3 separate regions of the Homo sapiens genome follow, and regions 1 and 2 are each linked to region 3. Evidence: promoter capture Hi-C in 16 types of primary human blood cells and fetal thymus (Javierre and others, 2016). All regions are on one chromosome and are shown on one strand. The core of a region is centred on a gene start or on the middle of the fragment in contact, and the rest is flanking DNA. Distances in the headings are between cores, read along the strand shown.

What was found. Contacts are between HindIII fragments. The CHiCAGO score rates a contact against its expected background, and 5 or more counts as called.
Region 1: a fragment that was not itself captured here is called in contact with the fragment with the promoter of GOLPH3 in region 3 in 1 of 17 cell types (total B cells); the score reaches 6.3 in total B cells.
Region 2: a fragment that was not itself captured here is called in contact with the fragment with the promoter of GOLPH3 in region 3 in 1 of 17 cell types (total CD4 T cells); the score reaches 7.1 in total CD4 T cells.

What each region holds. Positions count from the first base shown.
Region 1 is chr5:43,121,687-43,124,462 of GRCh38, forward strand. ZNF131 (zinc finger protein 131) reads left to right here. Exons shown (of 7, transcript NM_001330707.2): 2 at 353-491; 3 at 1,523-1,624. The coding sequence starts at 368. Among named protein-coding and RNA genes, the nearest start is that of ZNF131, 2.2 kb to the left of the region's middle. RefSeq lists enhancers at 1-315, 316-883 and a silencer at 1-169. The HindIII fragment of the contact is 1,187 bases long and covers 818-2,004 here.
Region 2 is chr5:43,483,783-43,486,524 of GRCh38, forward strand. C5orf34-AS1 (C5orf34 antisense RNA 1) reads left to right here and starts at 137. Exons shown (of 3, transcript XR_007058763.1): 1 at 137-219. TMEM267 (transmembrane protein 267) reads right to left here and starts at 83. Exons shown (of 3, transcript NM_022483.5): 1 at 40-83. RefSeq lists a silencer at 1-168 and enhancers at 114-957, 223-412. The HindIII fragment of the contact is 1,744 bases long and covers 483-2,226 here.
Region 3 is chr5:32,172,932-32,175,631 of GRCh38, forward strand. GOLPH3 (golgi phosphoprotein 3) reads right to left here and starts at 1,388. Exons shown (of 4, transcript NM_022130.4): 1 at 879-1,388. The coding sequence starts at 1,103. RefSeq lists a silencer at 672-1,281. The HindIII fragment of the contact is 5,568 bases long and covers 395-2,700 here.

The DNA of each region.
Region 1 (2,776 bases), core at 161-2,660, about 11 Mb after region 3:
CGGGCAGAAGGGCTTGGCGGGCCGTTAGAGGACCGCCACGGCTGTCGAGTCCCCTCCCTTGTTGGACTTGCGCGCCCTGGCGCTCGGAACCTCCGGCGCTGTGCCCACCCCGCTCTAGCTCGCGTCTCCCGACTCCAATTAGGTCAGGCTCGGAGTCCCGCGGCCGCGGCTCCGGTCTCAACGCTCCGGGGCCGCTCGGCTCGCCTTTCTTCCCTCGCCTTTCTCTCCTCTTGCTTCACCCTCCCCCCTTCTTTTCACGTTGCTGGTTTTTTTTGTTGTTGTTTTATGCTTTAGGGGTTTTGTTCCTCGGCTCGAGCTCATGGGTGTACATTATCATGCTCTTCTTTTGTAGAGCAGCCCGACGGCCATGGAGGCTGAAGAGACGATGGAATGCCTTCAGGAGTTCCCTGAACATCATAAAATGATCCTCGACCGATTGAATGAACAGCGAGAGCAGGACCGGTTTACTGACATCACCCTAATTGTCGACGGTGGGTAGGGCAGTGGGCAGAGGAGCGAATTTTTGGCTTCAGTTTTTTTCTGTCCTTCGGACACCCGCCTTTTTTTTTTTTTTTTTTTTTTTAACCCATCCTCTATGGTCTCCCTACCAAAGTCTGCAGAGTGTGTGCACTGGGACCAGATTGCACTTGTCAGTGTCCACTCACACAGCGTGCTGCAGAAGGCTGGTTGGTCAGTCATGCCTTCCACGTAGTCTGGTGTTCATCTCATTTTAACTTCTTACATCCTGTTGAGTGCAAGATGATGTCGTTGGGGACAGATTGTCTCAAAATGTTTGGTTGATAGCCTCTTGTTGGTAAGCTTTGAGAAGTCCCTTACAGGAGTCATTTGGGAAGTGTTGATTTTTTTTCTAGTTTCCCAAATGGTCTTGAAGGGAGAATGAGAGATTCCATTGCAGCACTCATACCCCCTTTGAGAATCTCCAAAATAAAATGGGGTCTTTACCAGCCTTAGGAGTTGCCTCTATAATGGAAGGAAATCCAGCGTGGGTATGTTTTCTGTTTAGCGAAAATAGGTTTCTCAAGGTAACCTGTTTTTAAAATTATGGGTCTACCATAGATGGAGCTTCCAAATATTAGGCATATTAAAATGTTTTTCATAGCAGACATATCCAGCTTTGTGCTTACGGTTTTTTTCTCTCTTTCCAAATGATATGTGACCTTTTGGGTTGTCCTTTTATTTAGCAGTTTCAACTGAGTTGGATATGCTTCTCACTACTTAATTGGAAACAACAGAGTGTCAAGAGGCTCCTTACCTAGTGTTGTAAATTAGGCTTTATAAAACTAAAGGGGTTTGAAGTGAAGATTTAGCTTTATATCTAATTGAGATTAACATTTGCCAAGATAGCTGCCAAGAATATTCTGCATTTAGTTCAATAATTTCTGTAGTTACGTAATGAAGGAAGACCTATTTTGCTTTATATGATTTTTAAGTCTATTTTGTAGTTATACATTTGATTTTCGTGCTTGTGTATGATTTTCTTTTTTTTTCTTATTTTACCTAGGACACCATTTTAAGGCTCACAAGGCTGTTTTGGCTGCTTGTAGTAAGTTCTTCTACAAATTCTTTCAGGAGTTTACCCAAGAACCATTGGTGGAGATAGAAGGTAAATGATTCTTGTTGTTTTTTTATTTAATAAATCAAAGAAGCCATTTTATTTAAATGCTTGTTTTAAATACAATACTTAGCAAACAATTGGTGAAGCAGTTTTAGACAGTTTATCAAGACACCATAGGAAATAGGCATCAGTAGTTCCTGTAGGTAAAGGTAGATAAATTGTTCTTTTGATACCTGAGAAGTCTTACTTTCAGTGAAGTGCTTGGTTGAATGATCTGCCAGGAAAAACTTAGATGGTAGATGTTGGTCTTTTCCATTGTGGAAACTGGTGGTCATTGTTTTTTGAAAACAAGTATTAAACGTGAATTACTATCTTTGTTCAGTGGGCTTATGTTTCAGACTGCTGGAGATGCTGCAGGTTACAGTAGAAGCTTTTACTGTACTCTATAGCAGAAGTAGTGATGTATTAGCAGAGGTACAGATGACATGCAGTGTGAAGTGGGCTGCCATAATAGGGAGAAAGCTAGGAAAAATGAACTGAAGTAGCATTTAGAGGAAATTCTGGCTCTACAATGGGATGGATCAATACCTGTTACCTTGAAGCAAAAAGTGATTTTTGTACTTTCTAGACATTTTTCTAATAATAACCTGCCAAGTGCCAGGCGTTGTGATATGTAGTTTTGTGTATTGTCTAAGGCTCACAGCAATCGTTTGATGTTGGGCAGGATGGCTTGTGCTTGTAGTCCCAGCTACTCGGGAGGCTGAGGCAGGAGGATTGCTTGAGCCCAGGAGTTCGAGGCCAGCCTGGGGCAACATAGACCCTGTCTTTTCTTTTCTTTTCTTTTCTTTTCAAAAAGGGAAGTGGTGTTATTTGTAATAATTTACACTTCAGGAAGCAGGCTCTAAAAGGTTACTTGCCCAGGGTTGTCCAACTAGCAAGGAATTAAGTTTGTGCTATTAATTACCATGCTTTTTCTTCTGCTACTGCAGTAACTCCTCCCCTACCACCAGCATCAAAATCTAAAACAGCAGGAAATAAATGTTTGCCTACGTAATTACAGAATTTTAGCTTCTTTTAGGGTTCTTGGGTTTTGGTTTTATATCTATTTCATTGTGTACGTATTCTTTGTTCTGAATGGGTTGCCTAGAAACTCCTTTTTTCCCTTTGATGCCTAGGGGAGTAAAGAAAACAAAAAAGAGT
Region 2 (2,742 bases), core at 105-2,604, about 11 Mb after region 3:
CCTCCCCTCAGTCCCACGCAGCGGCTCAGCCATACCCACCCCGGCTTCTCTGAGTTCAATCCAGCAGCAGCTCGAGCAGCGGCTCCGCCCCTCGGTCGGAGCCATAGAGACGTCGGCTGCCGGCCAGAGTGGCCTCAGACCGCAGCGTCGGCCGAGAGGACGCCGGGATACTGGCCAGCTCCAAGTCGAAAGGAAGCGACGCATGAGTTGTTTGGTGCGGTGGGTAGATACCTCGAGTTTCTCCTCGCCCACCGTAGGCCCCGACCCCTAAAAAGGAAACTTTTGGGACGTCAGAGTGAGAGGAGAAAAGTGTCTTTTTAGTTTAGTTTTGTCAAACCTGAGGATTCGTTTTTCAGTTTAGCCGGAGCTGTGCCGCAAACGTAGCTGCCGACATCCCCACGACGCACCCAAGTGGTGGCCCGGAAGCTGGGGATAGAAAAGTGGCCTCCCCGAATGCCAGGCACACAGGCCTTACTACCAGAAGCTTGAGCTGGGAGCCTCGGCCGTCGCATCTCTAAGGTGCAGCGATACGGCCAACTTCCTTCCGCGAAGCCCTCAGGGTGGGCAACGGAGCTTTTCACCAGACTGAGGGACCGGGCGACCTGGCCGACCGGCGGCTCCTCACCGCCCCCTTGGGGATTTCTTGATAATTCTTTGCCACGATGCGGGCGGATGTTGTGGAGCTACTGTTTGTAGATCGCAGTAGCGTGACAGCACTTAATCATGACTACTAAATCCTCAGAAGTCGAAAAAGCAAGTCCATACAGAATAGTTTGACCCTAATTAAATTGCGCTTACAAGATACAGTTTGTTTACTGGGACTTTGGCTAGGTCCCATCCCGTCTCTGCCTCAGAGTGGTGGTTGCTCTTAGCACCAAGGAAATACCAGCTTGACATTTGACTCTAGGAAGCACAGGCCCAAAAGAAGAGGCCCAAGGAGGGACATTCTTCTTTCCCTTTCCTACCTACAGTTTCTCAAACCAAGTGTCAGATGGAAAGCAAGGGGTGGTATCATCGTAATTATACAGTTGACCATAGAAAATAAATTTCAATCTCAAAGTAAACTCCTAGGCCACCCCCAGAATCTTAGAGTTTCTCAATCATAGAACTCATTTCTTGTCACAGTCTTGGTTCTTAGCCAATGTAAAACACCCAACTGACAGGGAAAATTAAACACCTTTTAACTCCCACACACCTTAAATGAGAATTTAAAGTATCTTTCAGCAAATGTATTTATAATTTTGAGTGCTTTTAGCCATGTTAAGGACAAATTTTCTCCTTCTGAATGCAGTAATAATTTGGCATTACCCTTTTGGCAGTGTGGTACAAAGTCTTATAATCTAGGCTTTATGGAGCTATTGAGGAACAACATAGATGGCTTCATGCAAACCCAAACAATGTAATAGTAGTTCTTTTCTCTGTAGTCGGTCTACTGCCTGTAGATGTTTATTCCTTTTTTTTTTTTTTTTTTTTTTGAGACAGGGTCTCCCTCTGTCACCCAGGCTGGAGTGCAGTGGTGCAATCATAGCTCACTGCAGCCTTGACCTCCTGGGCTCAAGGGATTCTCCGGCCTCAGCCTCTGGAGTAGCTGGGACCACAGGCACATGCCATCGTGCAGGTAATTAAGTTTTTTGTAGAGATGGGCATCTCGCTATGTTGCCCAGGCTGGTGTTAAAGTCCTGGGCTCAAGTGTTCCCCCCTCCTTGGCTTCTCAAAGTGTTGGGATTACAGGCGTGAGCCACTGTGCCCAGCTTACTGATTCATTTATACAAACAGAGTGCTCTCAGTGTGCTACAGAATGACTATGGAGCTCAAGTTCTAGTGGAGGGTGTGAGCCACAAGGAAACAAGCTAGACAGATTGTAATAAGTACTATAAAGGAAGTAAATAGGGTGATGTAATAGACTTGGGAGATGCTAACTTTAGTCAGGTAGTAAGGAAGGCCCTTTTGAGGAAATGGTACTTGTTTGAGAATTGAAATGTGAAGGAATCCAGTGTCAGAGGAACTAAAAAAAAAAAAAGGCATTGTGCCCCTTTAACTTAGTGACATTATCATTCCTGATCTACACTCTTCTCCCCATTTTTCTCGTTTTCTCTGTTACTGCTTCCCGTTTATTTGAAGAGCCAGGTCTTTTATAGAAATCAGAAAATTAGAACATTTCTGGTTGTGTTTGGTGTAATCTTGACGTCATTATAGATATTTGGTTTTGTTCTTTCTTAATAGACAAGCTTATAATAAATAGCACTTTTGGTGAGCTCATTTCTGTTAAACACTTTGCAGCATAAATCTTTTCCTGTGTTCAAAAGAAAGTATCTGGTTCATGAGACAGTTTAGATACAGTCTTTGCCAAAGTGCCTGATTTTTAGTTTACAATGTTGCTTGTCTCCGTTTTTGTTTTTGAGATGTAGTTCTTGTCTCATAGCTCTACTGAAAAATACTTGGAGTAAAGGGACCAAATAGCAAGTGAACAAATGCACAATTCTGCATATTAAAAAAAAAGAGGCTGGGTGCAGTGGCTCACACCTGTAATTCCAGCATTTTGGGAAACGGAGGCAGGAGGATAGCTTGAAGCCAGGAGTTCAAGACCAGCCTGGGCAAGATAGGGAGATTCCTGTCTCTACAAAAAAAATTTTTAAAAATTAGCCAGGCATGGTGGTACATGTCTGTGGTTCCAGCTACTCAGAAGGCTGAGGTGGGAAGATCCCTTGAGCCCACAAGTTCAAGGCTGCAGTGAGCTATGAT
Region 3 (2,700 bases), core at 138-2,637:
AGTATATATGCATATGTATCTATCACTTTTTCAACTTTTCTGTGTGTGAAAATTTTGGACACTGAAGTGAAAATAAACGCTTTCAAAGTCAGAATACAAAGAATTATCTATTGCAACTTCAACCCACCTGAAGCTTTGAGGCCTCTGATCAACTCACAAACCTACATTTCAAGCACTCGATGAAAAAGCCCTTTCTTAAGACGGCAAGACTTTGAGATTCATCAACTGATAAAATATAAAAGCGATACTAAAAATAATCTCTCACCTAATGTAAGTTCACCTAGAAAGTCATTTACCAGGAGGTTTCATGAGAAACTTAACTTAACTTTACTCAGTAAAAGAGCTTTTCCCTCTATTACCACTTCGCCTACGTTTTTCGTAATTCCCAACAGTAAGCTTTAACTGAAGAAGAAGAAAAAAAAAACATCCCCAGCAAGCAGATCCGGGCACCCCTCCCAGGTCCTAAAGCCTGCAAAAACCCAAAGAGTTCGTGGCGCTGGTGGCTCCAGCTGTTAGTTTCCCGGGCAGTCTCCGGGTTGGATTTGCACCCTGGGGTCTACACGGGTTAAAAACGCGGAAAAAAGGCGACGAAGAAATACAAACTGCCAGGGTGTCGAAATGAAAGGAGCGACTGTGAAAGGGGTAAGGAAAAATCCAAGCCATCTCTACGGGGAGGATCCAGAAAGCACCAGCCGCGCCAGGGGGTCAACCAACTCCGACACCGCTCGGCGTCAGCTGGGCGCCACCAGGCGCGGACTTCGGAGCGAGGGCAGGTGCGCGGGCCGGAAGCCTCGGGCGCTCACCTGGCACCTACCTGGAGCTCACCTGGCGCCCGGGCCCCGCGCCGCCGCCCCCCGCCCAGCCCGCCGCGCCCGCACCTCGCGGTCCTTGAGGCCCAGCAGGAGCACTTCCTCCATCAGGGTCAGCCGCGTTTCCTTGGAGTCGCCCTTGTCGTCGTCGTCCTGCTCGTCGCGGCGGCTCTGCGCGTCGTCCTCGCTGCTGCCGGCGCCGCCGCCCGCCGCCCGCTCCTTGTCGGCGGCGTTGCGGGAGGCCTCGGTGCGCCGCTGCACCAGGCCGGAGCTGCGCTGGGTCAGCGAGGTCATGGCTCCCGCCGAGGCGCCGAGCCGGGCCGAGAGGGTCGCAGGACCGACCGGGTCGCCCTCCTCCTCCCCGCGCGGCCTCCGATCCGGGTTTCCGTGTTAAATCCGGACGCCGGGGCGACGTCCGTCGGCAGCAGGGCCGGGGGCAGTCATGAGGAAACAGGTCAGGGCGAAGCGGGCTGGCCGGGCGTCGGCGGGGCAGGAGAGGAGCGCCTTCCTGCCTGTGGCCGCAGTCCCCGAAACACCCCGAGCTCCAAGGCGGAGGCGGCGGCGGCGCCTTTCCAATATGGCGGCCCCGGCTGACGTCACCGGAGGATGTGGCAGAGTCGGCGCGGGAGAGCTGGGCCGGGAGGCGCCGGAAGCGGCGGCCGGGGATCCGCTGCCACTGCAGCCTACACCCTTCCCGGCCCTCGGTGCTTGTCTTTTCTTTGGCGTTCCTGCGCCCCCTGACCCGCGGTCCTGCAGTCCTGCTCCCGTGACGTGCCCTCCCTCCTTCCGTTCCCCGTTTCCCCTTCACTACCCAGGGCTGGAGCCTGAACCTGGCGGGGCCCCCCGTGAATGGAAGAGCCTGGGCCACGCGAAGGTGGACCCCACTCAGCCTCCAGCCGTGCCCTCCACGCCCCAGACACCGCCGTCTTCGGAGGCGACTCCGCGGTCGTGTGGACGGGGTCCCATTTGGACTCCGGGGTCTGCAGGATCGGCAGGAAGGACTTTGCTCTCTGCTGCTGGGCGGGGAGGGGTACGCTATCTGCCGGGACTCCCTAACCCTTTAGAAGGAGCAAGTGCGTCCAAATGGTTTGAAAGTGGACCTTTATTGTTTTCCAGGAGTAAGAAGATAGAACAGTTGACCAGTTTTGTTTGTAAAACTTCTTTCCTTGCCTCGGACTTGTGCTATAAAGTGACCAGGGCGTAGTGAGTACAGTTAGTACCGCACACGTTAGCACGCTCGACCTTAACGATCTTTTTATAGAGACAATAAACCTGCAGCGTTTCATGCCACGTCTTTGTACGCATCGGATGTCTCTCCGTGTAGTTACTAGGTGAAATCCTCTTGGCGTGCGCAAATTAGGTTAAAAAAATAGCTGTCAAACCTGAGACAGGAGTTGGAGGAGTAGAGGGTGGCGCTTGTTAAGTGAAACATTTAACCAGGAATGGTATTGTGTGCCATCCTGTATTAAACAATGTATGGACAGAGTGGAACAACAGCAAAGCAAAAAATAAAAATTTTTTAAAAAAAGTGATCATGGGCTGTGGCTAAAGAGTGCTTTAGATGGATTCTTCTCTTCCACAAATCCATTATCCAGAACTGCTGCTGCCTACCATCCCATGCCCTGGAAAGTGACAGTGCTAAATGAAGGGAAGAGAGGGTCCAGGGGGCACACCAAGTAGACCTTCCCTTTTTCCCACCTGTCTTGGTGAAGGTCGATTTCACCTCAACCAATTTCTCCCATTCACACCCTCTTTTTTTTTTTTTTTTTTTTTTTTTTGAGACGGAGTCTTGCTCTGTTGCCCAGGCTGGGGTGCAGTGGCACAATCTCGGCTCACTGCAAGCTCTGCCTCCCGGGTTCACGCCATTCTCCTGCCTCAGCCTCCTGAGTAG